Regions from separate parts of the Homo sapiens genome. Here all the other regions are linked to region 1. Evidence: promoter capture Hi-C in 16 types of primary human blood cells and fetal thymus (Javierre and others, 2016). All regions are on one chromosome and are shown on one strand. Each heading gives the region's core, a stretch centred on a gene start or on the middle of the fragment in contact. The rest is flanking DNA. Distances are from core to core; before and after follow the strand shown.

Region 1 (4,868 bases), core at 1,672-4,171:
TCTGCAGAACTGAAATGGTTTTTTGATAAAGACTGATTTTCAGGGGAGGATTAAATAGAATAGACATGGACTGGAGGCTGAGGTGGGGGAATCGCTTGAACCCAGGAGGCAGAGGTTGCAGTGAGCTGAGATTGCACCACTACACTCCAGCTTGGCAACAGAGCGAGACTCCGTCTCAAAAAAAAAAAAAAAAAAAAAAAGAATAGACATGGAAATCATCTAGGATAGGTCGGTAAATCTGTAACAAATTAGAACTCTTAGCCCTCACCAGGCTGTGTGTTGTGTTGTGGGGTACAATCCCGAACCCTGCACTATGAAGCTCAGGGTCAGGACAAGAACGATGCTTATAGCAATAGTAGCTTCTACTTATGAACATTATCCACACACCAAGAGCTTCTCCCTTAACCCTCACAACTCCTCTCATAGGCTCTGTGGATGGGATGTGTTAATATGTGTAAGCACTCAACACACCCTGAGACACGGTGAATATTGATTAATGTTAGTTTTAATTTGTATAACCATTGTACAGACGAGAAAGTTAAGACTTAGATTGAGGTGGGATGTGGTGAGGGATAAAAGATCATTTTTTATACCAAAAAAATTGAAAATTGTATTTCTACTAGATCATTCTATCACATAATCACGCCCCCTCTCTTTCAAGAGAAACCTCCTTTGAAGCATATTTCTTTCCAGCTTCAACCCTATCTAGCCAAATGACCTCTCTGTAAGGTCTGTCTGTAAGACAGAATTTCCAGCCAAACATCCAAAGAGAATGTCTCTAATTCTTCCTTTTCCTTCTTCGCCTCAGCTGTTCTCCTTAATCCACTCCACATTGACTTCTGTCCTTAGCACTCCACCTAATGCATTTTCCCAAGGATGCTTATGACCCCCAGGCTGCCAAATCCAGTGAGTCCTTCTCAGTTTTTAAGACCTGATATCCCAATGACACAGGACCCATTGGATCACTTTCTCCCTTTTCAAACACATTTTTCCTATGCCATGAGATATATCCAAGAGATATGTGCACACAATACACTCTTGGTCGTCTCTACAGCTCGATTCTCTTCCTCTTTTTAGTCCAATTTACGGTGTTTTCTATTCTAAATTTGACTCTAAATGTTGGGGTATCTCACATTCTATAAATGATATCATCCAGTCTCTGGGATTAAACCATTATGCTGTCTTTTCATCTAAATTATCAGCCGTGGCCTCTCCCTGGCACTCAAGTCTGATAAAACCTCTCCCCGTGGGAGTCCCATAGACTCCAAACCTCACATGGTTTTACCAAACTGTTGATGTTCTCTGCCTCCCAGACCTGCCACTCTTCCAATATTCTGTATCTATTTGGAGATTAAATATTCAGTTGTTAAAGCTCCAGATCTAGAACTCACCTTTCATTTCTCTTTTCCTCACCACCCAACGCCATCCACGTCTTACTCATTCTATCTACAGAACATGCTGAATGCACAGCCAGAGCCATTGCCATCTCCACGACCGGTGTCCATGGCCCTGTCAGGCTTGGATATTTGCACAAGCCTTGCAAATAGCTTTTTCCTGGTCCTGCTGCCCCCTCCCCTAAGATCCATTCTCCAGACAGAAACCAAATGAGCTTTAAAAAGGTCCAATAAGATGGTGATGTTATTCGCAATACCTTCCGATGGCTTCCAGACTTCTAAGTTACCCTTATCTTAGGTTCCCTTATCCTAGGTTCCCTTATCCACTGCCACATGTGCCCTGTGCATCCCTCAGACCTCATCTCTGCACTCTCATCAGACACACTGGGCTCCACCCACTGGGCTCTAATTCCTTGAACTTGCAGCTCTTTGTCATCTCAGGGCTTCTGCTTTCTCTATTCCTTCTGCCTACCGTGCTCTTCGTCTTGAGCTTCCTGCACCTGGCTCATCCTGAATATTCATATTTCAGGTCAAATATTATTTCAGAGAGATCCCACCTCACCCACTCTGCAAAGCAGAATGCTCAGGTACAGCCTATCTCACCAGATACTTTTCTCCTTTATTTGTTTGTTCATTTATCTTCTCTCTTAAATACCCTCCACACTAGTACGTAAGCTCCACAGGACTATCAAGATCCTTCAATGCTACATCTCTACAATGCTACATGTCCAGTAGAAATATAATGTGTTAACTTTAGCTACATATGGGACTCAAAATTTTTTTGTAGCCACTGTTTTTAAAAAAGTAAAACACCTTTGGGGAAATTATTTTAGTAATAAATTTTATTTAATTACATATATGATAAAGAATTGGCCAGTCACATTGGCTCACGCCTGTAATCCCAGCACTTTGGGAGGCCGAGGTGGGCAGATCACGAGGTCAGGAGTTGAAGACCAGCCTGGCCAACATATTGAAACCCCGTCTCTACTAAAAATACAAAAAATTAGCCAGGCGTGGTGGCAGGTGCCTGTAATCCCAGCTACTCAGGAGGCTGAGGCAGGAGAATCGCTTGAACCTGGGAGGCAGAGGTTGCAGTGGGCTGAGATTGTGCCACTGCACTCCAGCCTGGGTGACAGCGCAAGACTCCATCAAAAAAAAAAAAAAAAAAAAAAAAAAAAAGAATGTTACTGGAACATGTAACCAAATTAAACACTGTTAATGAAATAGTTAACATTGTTTTCATACTAACGAAGTGGATTCTTCACTGGACTACGCTACTCCAGAGTTAGAAGGGCTCTGTCATATAGCAGGCATTTCAACAATAACTTTAAAATTTTCAGACCCCAACTTACCACCAGCTTAGATCCTTTTCCTGTGCCCAGTTCCTGGATTCCTGTGGAGCAACTCAGGCTCTAAGTACTTGTAAAAAGATGAAGTTATATGTTTGGTTTTAAGATCTTAATTGGCTTTGGTTATAAAGATGGAATCAGACAGCCTGTCATGCTATAAAACAAAATGAGTGTTTTGATAGTTAGAGCCAAGGAAGTTGGTTTTACAGGGATAGGAGGGCTAAAGAAAGCAGAAACAGAGAACAAAAACCTGATTGGTCATCTGGATGTTGCATTTTTTTTGTGCAGCAGGAATAGAGAGACAGCAATAAGGAACAACTGATTGATTGAAGTCAAGTTACCACAGATTGCTTTTTTTTTTTTTTTGTAAAGATGAAAGCAGACAGAACTTCATGTTCATGCCCACTGAAACTGGCCTGTTTTAGGAATTTGTCCATTTTCTCTCTCTCCTGATTTCTCAAAAGTTCAGATACATTAGTTTTGGTTTGGTGATGTGGAGTTTTAGTATGACTGACTCCATTTGGTTTGCTTTGTCGAACCTAGTACAATAGGTCAGTCCAAACCACTTACTTGCTGTTTTTATAGAACAGGCTTCAGCAGAGACTTAGTTGAAGGACACGGGGACAATGGAGCTGGAATCAATCCAGTGACACAAACTCAGGGTTTCTTACCATTCCCAGAAGACACCTTGGAGATGTTCTCAGACGATTTATCTTGGAAACTTATGTGTCTGAATGTTCCTTCACCTCTAGCCTTCTGTGGGAGACTGGAGTTCATCCTTCCAAATATCAAAGGCCAAGAAATCTGAGAGTCCAGGCCCTTTCTTTTCAGAGATTCAGGAAAATGAAAGAAACAATTACCAAGGTGAGAAGAATGAGAGGAAAAACAATAAAAAAACAAAGATGCACGGTGAAACAAAAACTCGATTCTCTACTTTCACAATCCTTCTGACCAAATATACTTTTTCTCTACACCAAGAAATTCTCCAATTCTCTGGGGACACCACCTGGGCCACCTGCAATTAAAAATTCGGTTATGATGCTGTCTACCTGGATTCAGCTCAGATCCGAAAAGCTAAAGGGCTCACTCCCACAAACTGTTCTCAGATCAGATCAGACATCTGTTGCAAGTCCCAGGTGGCTACTTGTACTTCTGACTGACAGGCTATAAATTGGGTGTTCCAATGACACCAATAAATTGCTAGAATGGCACACAGAACTCAGGAAAGCACTTTGTTTGCATCTGTTGCTTTATATAAGGAATATACCTCAGGAATAGTCCATTGGAAAGAGGCATATGGCAGGTATATGGCAGGGAAGGGGTTGGGTGGTGCATGGAGCTTCCATGCTCTCTTCAGGCAGCCACTCTCCCAGCACTCCTGAGTGTTCACCAATGTGGAAGCTCATCAAATCTCATTGTTCAAGAGTTTTTATGGAACTCAATCTCCAGTCCCTGCCTCCCCTTCCTGGAGATCAGTAGGTGGGGCTGACAGCTCCAACCCTCTAATCCCTTGGTCTTTCTGGTGACCAGTCCCATCCTAAGGCCATGATCTCCTTAGCATAAACTCAGCTATGATCAAAAGGGGCTGTTTATGAATAACAAATAATACTCCTATCACTCAGGGAATTCCAAGGGTTTTAAGAGCCCTGTGCCAGAAATCTGTGACAAAATCAAATATGCTTTGAGGTATTTCATACCTCAGAGTTACAAAGAGAAGCAGTAACTAGGAGCATGTAGAGAGGTAAGGAAGGTAAATGAGAGACACTGTACACTCCACACCATTGCCGAGATTAACCCCCTAACCTTCTGCCCCTAGGGAGATGCTCTATGGACTACTGATCTAAGGAGATGGGCTCTTTCTGAGTTTTTAAACACCATCAGAATGTTGTTCTCAAGCCCAAGGAATAGAACCATGAAAAACAGTGGAGAGCCACAAAACAAGAGTCAACTATTTTCTATTTTCTCTCTGATTCACTGGATGTTTTCAGTGATAAGGTAGAGTAAACCAATGAAGCACATAAGCCATGGAGAAATTTATTATTAAAAAAAGTTTTGGAAGGGGATAGATCTGGAGTTTGAACAAAAATTGAGTTTAATGTCACCCTTCCACTCCATCATCATATTG
Region 2 (4,868 bases), core at 1,424-3,923, 250 kb after region 1:
CACACGGACTCTTCAGAAAGGAGAAACCATTCAGGAAACATTCATATCTTGTAGGATGCTCTCTTGGAATATGACAAGTATGTTAAAAGCCCAGACACCAGAAATAAAGCAATGAAGGTTCTGCTCCTTCTAGAGGTGGTGGCATGCCGACAGCGTGAAAGGACCCTGGGGTGGGCTGATAACACTCAGAGGGTCCCCAAGCTCCTCTCTCTCCTCACCAGCCCTGACCCACAAGCCCAACATTTTCATCCCAGGGATTCTGGGGTACCAGTCACACCAGGAACCTTACCTGCTATGTGTTCTGGGCCTGTGAATGGGAGGAGCCCCCTCCACATTCTTCTGAATGGGGGTCTCCCTGTTGCATCTGGGCTCCAGGACCTTCGGCTCCTCAGTGCTCACGATCACCCCATGGCCCCAGGACCACAGCACCAACCTCACCTGGCAGGTGAAGTTCCCTGGAGCTGGTGTGACTACAGAGAGAACCATCCAGCTCAGTGTCTCCTGTGAGTGCTGGGGCCAGGATGCCTGGGTTCCTGAGGGTGTAGGGGGTAGAGGAGGGTCAGGGCAGGGGACACTTTGTGGCTATGTCCTGGAGGCCTGGCTGAGCAGGGGAACTAGAAGGACACAAGCTCTGTCTTTTGACATTCCTGTGGCTTCTGGGGTAGGGGAGGAGTACCTACTTTTACCTCATCTCCACCCCAAAGAAAGGGAAATTCTCTCTTCCTGTTCTAGATGCTCTAAGGAACCCAAGGATTGGTGTCTCTCTAGGAGACGGCACAGGTAGGACAGAGCCCCCTCCCTGGGGCTGAGGGAGCAGGGCCTGCAGCTTGGGGCAGGGCTGGGCTACTGCTTCTTCCTGGACTCAACTTCGTAACCTGAGACCCTCTTGTAAGTGAAACAGAGGTCTTCCCCATCGTTAGTCTCCAAGGCCACCTGAGCACCTGTCCCCATCCTCCCCTCACTCCCCTTGGCCTCTTCCACACACAACTCCCACTGGCCCCATAACAAGGGCAGGGTGCCATTCACATAGCAGATCCAGGCTTTGAGTCCCCACCTGCTGAATACTCCTCTTCCCTCATCTTCTTATTCTCCCCAGTAGTCCTGATCTAAGTTCTTCTGAACAGATGATATAGTCACATGGGTGAGAATTCAGAGTGCACAGTAGAATCTACCCTCAGACACCCGTCCCCTTCCCCAGAATCCGCCAGTGTCTGTCCTGGCTGCGCTGCGCCTTGATTTGCTTGCCCGAAGGATCTCAGTGATGGTTTAACATCAGTAGTGACATCAGAGTGACATTACTCTCCTCCAGTACTGTGGGTGATTCCACTGTGTGGATGGACTCCAATTTCGTGGCATCAAAAATGTGGACTCTGATTTTGTGCCTAATGGAATATCATGGCACTAATTTTATCTTACCAACAGTAACACTGCAATAAATAATCTTGTATCTACTGCCACAAGTGTACATCTATGCCTGTGAAATCAGTTCTTAAATGCAAAATAGTTGGGTCATATGTTCTTTCTAATTTTGAAAAAATATGGCCATGGAGAACCCATGAAGGTGAACAAGGTTACACGCGCAACAGGGAGGGGTAAAAGTGTATGTATTCACCTACCCATTGTGGGGCAAAACTTTTTTTTTTATTTTTTGAGATAGAGTCTCACTCTGTTGCCCAGGCTGGACTGCAGTGGTGTGATCTTGGCTCACTGCAACCTCTGCCTCCCAGGTTCAAGCAATTCTTGTGCCTCAGCCTCCCTAGCAGCTGGGATTACAGGCATGTGCCACCACACCCAGGTAATTTCTTTTGTATTTTTAGTAGAGACAGGGTTTTGCTATGTTGGCCAAGCTGGTCTTGAACTCCTGGCCTCAAGTGATCTGCCCACCTCAGCATCCCAAAGTGCTGGGATACAGGTGTGAGCCACTGCTCCCAGCCGGGGCAAAACTTTTTGAAATCAGGGCCTGTGGTGGAGGTGGTCTTGGTGGCTGTCGGGGAGGCGGCTGTGAAGATCCTGCCTATCTGCCTCTGCTTCCTCTTCCTCAGCTGAGCGCTGCCCCAGGGACCAAGGAGAGATGTGGGGAGTACAGGGGACATGGTGCTGAATCCCAGGTCCCAGTGCTGGAGGAATCTGAAGGCTCAAGAGGGCCAGGCAGTAGGCTGAATTGTGGCGAGAATTCCACATGGACCAATTGTTGTCTGACCTCGGCTTTCACTGAATGTCCGGGCTGGGAGGTTCCTGCTCTCATTAGGGAGGTTCTGGGGGCTAGGCCTGCTCTCTCCACCCCAGTCCCCTCCTGCCCCTTAGCAGGGCACGGGGAGATGAGTCTGCTGCCCTCTGCACCCCGATCCGGCCACACTGGCAGGCCTTTGTCTTTTTACTCACTGTCAGTTTCTGCAGGAAGGAAGGGCAGCAGCAGGCGTGGAGGCTGCAGACCCTGTCACGGGCTAATCTCTCAGGGGTTGTGGGCATCTCATCCTCAACATCCCACTGGACACCTCCCCCTCAATGGCCTCCAGGATTGCTCTGCTCAGTATGGCTTAAGTTGAGCTGCCCATCTTCTTCCCCCAACCCACTTCTCCTGGGATCCCCATCCTACTGATGACATAGTGGCTCCCATCTCTAAAGTCAGAACCAGGATATGGGTCTTCACCTTCACCTCCCTCCCTCCTCCAGATCCCACAAATCACTAATTCTTGTCCCTCCTTCTAAGCAGGGTTCATCCTGGGGCCCTTTTCTCCATCTTGGCCCTGGTCATGCCTGGGGCCTCGCCTCCTCCCTGAACACTGAGCCCTCCTCACCTCCTGCCTCCATCTCTCCCAACACAGACTCCAGACTCCGTTTCCAGATGCCTCCTCATCCAGTTCCTCCACAGTCTGAGCAGCCGTGTTTCCTCTCTGGTGCTGGAGAACAAGGGGAAAATGCCACAGCCTGGAATGGAGGCCTTGCACAGTCTGTTCCTGGCCAGACTCTCCACCCAAAGTCTCTGCAGGCCAAGCCCTCTGTGGCTCTGAGACTTTGCGTGTGTAATTCCTTCTCCTGAAATGCCCTTCCCTCCCATTCCTGCCAATCTAGGTCCCAATTGTCCTTCAGGCTCAGTCTTAATGTCACTCAGGGTTGTGTGTGTGTTGTGTGCATGTGTGTGTGTATGTGTGTGTGTGTAATTCTTATTTGGTTCTGAGTGGAGCAGAGGCATTATTGGTGATAGACACGAAGCGACTAACTTCAGTGACTCTACTGAGCATCCATTATGTGTCAGCATTATTATTGGCACCAGGGGTTCATCAGTAGACACAGCACGAAAAAAATCTCTGTCTTCAAGAAGCTATCATTCTAGAGACAGGAAAAGTACAAATGAAAAGAAATAATAAATAAAATAAGAGCATGTGGGGTGGAGATCTGTGTTTGGAGAAAAAGCATGCAGGGAAAGAAACATAAGATAGACTGGGGAACCGTTTCTTATCTGATAATGAGGGGAGGTGGTGTGTGAGCAAAGGCATGAAGGTGCTGAGCAGGGAGGCTCTGTGTCTGAATGAGAGACAAGCATCCCAGCAAGAGGGAAGGGGAGCAGTGAGTGCATTGCTCAGAGGCAGCAGCAGGCCTGGGCATTGCAGACACAGCCAGAGCCCCAGTCTGAGAGCAGAAGGAGGCAGAGGAGGGAGCAGCGGGGATGACAGGGCAGCCTGCGTGGGGCCCTGAGGCTACGCAGGAACCTGGAGCCTTTGGAGAGAGCAGAGGCTTGACTGGACTCTCACTCTAACAGGACCCTCAGCTGCTCTGGTCAGAGCAGAACCGCGTGTGTCACGGCAGCCAAGGAGGCTGGGAAGGTGCTGCTGGGTCATCCAGGAGGAGGCATGGGGCTGAGCCAGGGAGGCAGGATGGGGTAAGGATGTGTTTTTGGATGTGAGTGGAAGGTCAGGCTCACAGAATTTTCTAATGAGTGTTGTCAGGGAGGGGAAGGGAAGAGCAAGGATGGGGCCAGAATGTTCCTCTGAGCACCTGGAAGGAAAGAGCTGTGTCCATGGAGGACTGCAGACGGGTGGCTTTCAGGGGCGATGATAATTCTGAGAATCCCCCTGACATCTGAATGGGGATAGGAGGGAGACAGCTGAATGCAAATGTCTGGAGCTCAGGAGAGGGGTCCAGGATGGAGATGTTTCAATGCACAGCTGGAGTAAAGTGATGACCACAGATGAGGAGAGACAGGGGTGAGGACAGACGGAGAAGTGGGCACCTTTGTCACTCATGATCTTTGCAACGGCAGGTTTTTTTGTTTATTAATTCCAAAAATTTATTTGGATTCCATCTGGAGTTTTAAAATTTTATTTGTTTATTATATTTTTTAGAAGGTTCTTACTTTGTTGCCCAGGTGGGAGTGTGGTGGCTTTTCATAGGTATGATTGTCATAGCCCACTGTAGCCTGGAATTCCTGGGCTCAAGCTATCCTCCTTCACAGCCGCCTCTTGAATAGTGGGAACAGCAGGTACCCGCCATCGTGCCTGGTGCCTTTGGATTTTTCAAAGCAATATTTCCAGCCTTATTGAGGTGTAATTAAAAATAAATATTGTATTTATTTACAGCATACAATGTGATGTTTTGTGGACATTTCCTTTGTGTTTTATCATTATTCTATTTTAATAGACAAATAAAATTGTGTATATTTATGATATGTAACATAATGCTTTAAAATATGTGTACATTGTGTAATGAAGAAATAAGCTAATATATGCATTGCCATCTCACACTTATCAACCCCTTTGCACTTTAAAGTAACACCTTATACTCATCAAAAGGATTGCTTTGTATCCAGCAATATTTGTTTTGTTTTGTGATGAGAACATTGGAAATTTACTATCTTAGCAGTATTGAAA
Region 3 (4,868 bases), core at 1,471-3,970, 210 kb after region 1:
AAAAAAGAAACAAAATAGCCATGTTTGGGGTCATAAAATCTGTCAGTATCTTGACTAAACTCAAAAACCTGAAATCAACATATCTCACTGGGAACAAAATTGTCTAAATATGAGAAAATGGGGATCTAGTTTGTTGTAATACCACTGGGATTAAGAAAAAGGGTCACTTTTTTCTTAATTAAAACAAGAAAAACTGGTAAGAATTCCAAAGTAATAAATTAAATTAGAGGACTGTGTTTCTGAGCCCAGAAACAGAAAAATCTCACAAAATTTATCAGGTGAGAATTCCTTATTTGGATGATGATGATTCCAATTTCTGATCTCCCAAAATTAAGGAAGTGAGTCATCTCATGGGAACTGTCCTCCGTGGAGCTAAGTAAGGTAGCAGAACACAGTTTAAGCACAGGGACTAGAGGTACTGATATATAAATCATTAGAATAAAAATATGAGGACTAAGAGTTCAGAATGGATGGGTCCTTTAAGTCAATTCCTGTGGGAAAAGATGCCCATAGCCGGGCACGGTGGCTCACGCCTGTAATCTCAGCACTTTGGGAGGCCAAGCCAGGCGGAACACCTGAGGTCGGGAGTTCGAGACCAGCCTGACCAACAAGGAGAAACCCCGTCTCTACTAGAAATACAAAATTAGCCGGGCATGGTGGTGCATGCCTGTAATCACAGCTACTTGGGAGGCTGAGGCAGGAGAATCACTCAAACCTGGGAGGCGGAGGTTGCGGTGAGCCAAGATCGTGCCATTGCACTCCAGCCTGGGCAACAAGAGTGAAACTCTGCCTCAAAAAAAAGAAAAGATGCCCATATGGAAGAACAGGGCCCCAAGCTAGAGGTGCCACAACTGGGAGGAAAAGAAGACAGCAGATCCAGCAAAGAAAAGAAAATAAATAAAATTAGGGGCAAAAAAACTGGAAAAAAAAGGCAGAAAACTCCATGGACGTAAAGAGATAAGCGGTAAGAAAATGCAACAAACAAATGAAAAAGCCAATCAGATAACAGATAAGATGAGAGGCTCTCACCATTCAGTTATTAGAAAAATAACACTTAAGCAATGAAACAGGCTGGGTGCGGTGGCTCACGCCTATAATTCCAGCACTTTGGGAGGCCGAGGTGGGCAGATCACAAGGTCAGGAGATCGAGACCATCCTGGCTAACAGGGTGAAACCCTGTCTCTACTAAAAATACAAAAAATTAGCCGAGTGTGGTGGCGGGTGCCTGTAGTCCCAGCTACTCGGGAGGCTGAGGCAGGAGAATCACTTGAACCCAGGAGGCAGAGGTTGCAGTAAGCCAAGATCGTGCCACTGCACCCTAGCCTAGGTGACAGAGTGAGACTCTGTCTCAAAAAAACCAAAACCAAAAACAAAAAAAAATGAAACAGCCCTTTCACCTATCAGTAGGGCTATAAATTCACCAATTTTGTTAATGCCAAGTGTTAGCAAGCAAGATGTGCAAATGCAAATCCTTGTGCACTGCACATGGGGAGTGTGAACTGGTGCAGCCCATCAGAAGAGCAATATGGTTGATTTAGTCAAGTATACTTATCTCCAGGACCAGGCAATCCCATTCCTGAGTATTCACCAATGGAAAATTCTTAAGGCAGCCCCTATAGGACATTTAACATTTATAGCACATTTACAGTGTTTGATGGGAAACTGGGAGTAGGAGGCAATCTACGGGCCATCACTGGGGGAATGGAGGGAATAGAAAAGTATGGTAGACTGGTAATGGTTCCCTGCAAAGATATCTACATTTGCCCGGGTACAACTTACTCACCTTGACACCTCTGATGTGAGACTTCAGCCTCCTCCACACGCGGCTCCTTTTCTTTTAGCATTCTGAAGATGACCTCTGGGTTGGGAATGTGATACCCTGTTAATTAGAAAGGATACTGGATTTGGGTGTAGCTTCTTCAGTTTTAGAGGCCATTCAATGAAGCTTTACACTGGCTCATTAGAAAAGTCAACATTTTCCACTGGGCACAAAATAATACTAGAAGGTGCCCAAAAGAAACAAACAATCCAGGACAAACCGATAAAAGAGTCATGACATACTTTGATATCCCACTGCGTTCTGCAATGAGGAGGAAGGAAATCTCCTCAACAGGATCCAGCCAAGATTCCCAGGTCAGTTGTGCTCACCCACTGCGAAGAGATGGCTATAGAGCTCCAGCATCACATCCCGGTACAGGCATCTCTGGGCAGGGTCCAGTTGCTGCCACTCCTCCCTGCTGAAGTCCACGGTCACGTCCTCAAATGACACTGATGCCTGTAACAGTGTACCCCAGCTCACTGTGAATTAGGTCATCATTGGCGAGTGGGGATGGCACATATAGGAGGAACATGCTTTTAATGATTTTCACCACGATCCATCACAGAGGCTTCCCACCAAACACCTATTTCACATTTTTAGGGATTTAAAAAAAAATAAGAGAAATATCCTCCATCCACTGTACACCTACATTCATTCATTCATTTTTTTTTTTCAAAAATGAGGCCAGAAATGGGTTCCCTCTAAGTCCTTTAGCTAATTTAGGAATAACCAGCATGATGTTGACGAAGCAACTACATGTGAGGCTGTAGTTGAGCTGGGTTCTGGTGCTCAACACAGAATTACATAAGCTTCTACTCTTGCAGCAACTCAGAGACTTGGAAGACATGTAAATACAAAAGCTCAACTACAGGGTTAAAAAGGGAACATGGTAGAAATATATGCAGAGGACACTGTTGGGGAAGGGCAAATTAGGGAAAGGCAAATTCTACCTAGGAGTAGAAGGTAATGCTACTTAGAGTTGGTGAAGCTTACGCTGGAAGTAAGAACTGTGATGCAGGATGTGTGAAGGAAATCATTTTCCAGAAAAGAGCATGAATAAAACTAGAGAGGTAGGAAAACACTGTGAATTCAGGGAGAAGCAGACAGCTCTGTGTAAGATAAGAGGCGACTATGTCATGTTTGGAAGGTGGTTACCATCCAAGCTCCAAAGAAGTGGGCTGGTGCCTCAATATATAATGGGTATGGATTATTTATTTTAATGAACGGACTGCCATTTCAGGATTTTAAGTGCAGGGAAGAGATATGATCATATAATATTTCAACAAGATGATCTCTCCTGTAATAACTAATATTAGGTTAATGAAAGGACTGATGATGGAAAGATCTTCATTACAGAAGTACTGCAGATGATAAATGCAGCCTGAAGGACAAAACAAAAATGTCACTGTTACTGATCACCAATGACTGCTAAAACCATATGAAAGACTGATGGGTCTTTATAATGGAGGAGTAGGCTGACAATATCTGAACCCAATCATCAATTTTATCACAAGGAGAGAGATAACCAGATATTAAAGTGCACCTAATATGATGCAAAATAAAAAAATAAAAGTAGAGAGGTAGGAAAATACGTGGTGTGCAAACTATTAAGTATCATTTCCAAAAACAAAGAAATCCAAGTGGACTCTGATCAAGCCTCTAGAGGAGAGCCATCCAATGGAAATAAAACATGAACCGTGAATGTGAGCCACACATATAACTTAAAATTGTCTAGTAGCCATGTTTAAAAGACAGATAAAATCAATTTAATGATATTTTTACTTAATCCATTATATTCAAAACATTATCATTTCTATATGTAATATTTTAATATTACATATATTAAAACATTCTATATTCTATATATTGAATATTCTATATTCAATATTTTAAAAATCATCGAGATGAGATGCTTTACATTCTGTTTTCATACTAAGTTTTCAGAAGTCAGCATATATTTTATACTTCAAGCACATCTCAGGGTGAACCAGCCGCATTCAAGTGCTCAATAGCTACATGTGGTGAGTGGCTACCATACTGGACAGCACAGGTCTACATTTAAATACCAGTTCAGAACAGATGTTGGGCATATACCCAGGGGTGGAATTCTGGGTCATGGGAAAAACATGCTCGCCTTTAGTAGAAAATTAGAAATCATTTTCCAAATTGGTTGTACCAATTTATATGCTTACCAGCAGCACACAAAATCCTTCTGGTTGCTCTGTATCCTCACCTACATTTGGTATTATCAGTGTTGGTAACTGTATGCATTTTGGTACAGGCATGGGAGTTACACTGGCAATTCCCAGATGACTAATGAAGCTGAGCATCTTCCCATGTTTACCAGCCTATTCAAGCAAGTCTCTTCTTCAGTTTTCTACTGGGTTAAAAAACACTTTTCCTCAAAAAAAAAAAATTTTTTTTGGGAGATAGAATCTCACTCTGTTGCCCAAGCTGGATTGCAGTGGCACGAGCATGGCTCACTGCAGCCTCTGCCTCTCAGACTCAAGCGATCCTCCTGCCTCAGCTTCCCAAGTAGCTGGGACCACAGGCGTGCACTACCATGTCCAGCTTTTTTTTTTTTTTTTTTTTTTTGAGATGGAGTCTACTCTGTCACTAAGGCTGGAGTGCACTGGCATGCTCTTGGCTCACTGCAGCCTCTGACTCCTGGGTTCAAGCGATTCTCCTGCCTCAGCCTCCCAAGTAGCTGGGATTACAGGTGCCTGCCAACATGCCTGGCTAATTTTTGTATTTTTAGTAGACACGGGGTTTCATTATGTTGGCCAGGCTGGTCTTAAACTCTGGCCTCAAGTGATCGGCCCATCTCTGCCTCCCAAAGTTCTGAGATTACAGGTGTGAGTCACCACACTCAGCCTTAATTTTTGTATTTTTTGTAGAGATGGGGTTTCAGCATGTTGCCCATGCTGGTCTCAAACTCATGAGCTCACACGATCCACCCACCTTGGCCTCCCAAAGTTTTGGGATTACAGGTGTGAGCCACTGCACGTGGCCATTTCTGTGTTTCTGAAGGAGTATCTCATTGTCCTGT

The links. The method cuts DNA at HindIII sites, captures the fragments that hold promoters and counts their contacts. A CHiCAGO score of 5 or more calls a contact.
Region 2: a contact is called between a fragment that was not itself captured here and the fragment with the promoter of FPR3 in region 1, in 1 of 17 cell types (monocytes). The highest score is 6.1, in monocytes.
Region 3: a contact is called between a fragment that was not itself captured here and the fragment with the promoter of FPR3 in region 1, in 1 of 17 cell types (monocytes). The highest score is 5.2, in monocytes.

What each region holds. Positions count from the first base shown.
Region 1 is chr19:51,793,210-51,798,077 of GRCh38, reverse strand. FPR3 (formyl peptide receptor 3) reads right to left here and starts at 2,921. Exons shown (of 2, transcript NM_002030.5): 1 at 2,747-2,921. The HindIII fragment of the contact is 12,110 bases long and covers 1-4,868 here.
Region 2 is chr19:51,540,535-51,545,402 of GRCh38, reverse strand. It overlaps the pseudogene SIGLEC28P. Among named protein-coding and RNA genes, the nearest start is that of SIGLEC6, 11 kb to the right of the region's middle. The HindIII fragment of the contact is 6,858 bases long and covers 1-4,868 here.
Region 3 is chr19:51,578,798-51,583,665 of GRCh38, reverse strand. ZNF175 (zinc finger protein 175) reads right to left here. Exons shown (of 5, transcript NM_007147.4): 3 at 2,149-2,275; 4 at 1,784-1,879. Among named protein-coding and RNA genes, the nearest start is that of ZNF175, 9.9 kb to the right of the region's middle. The HindIII fragment of the contact is 179 bases long and covers 2,631-2,809 here.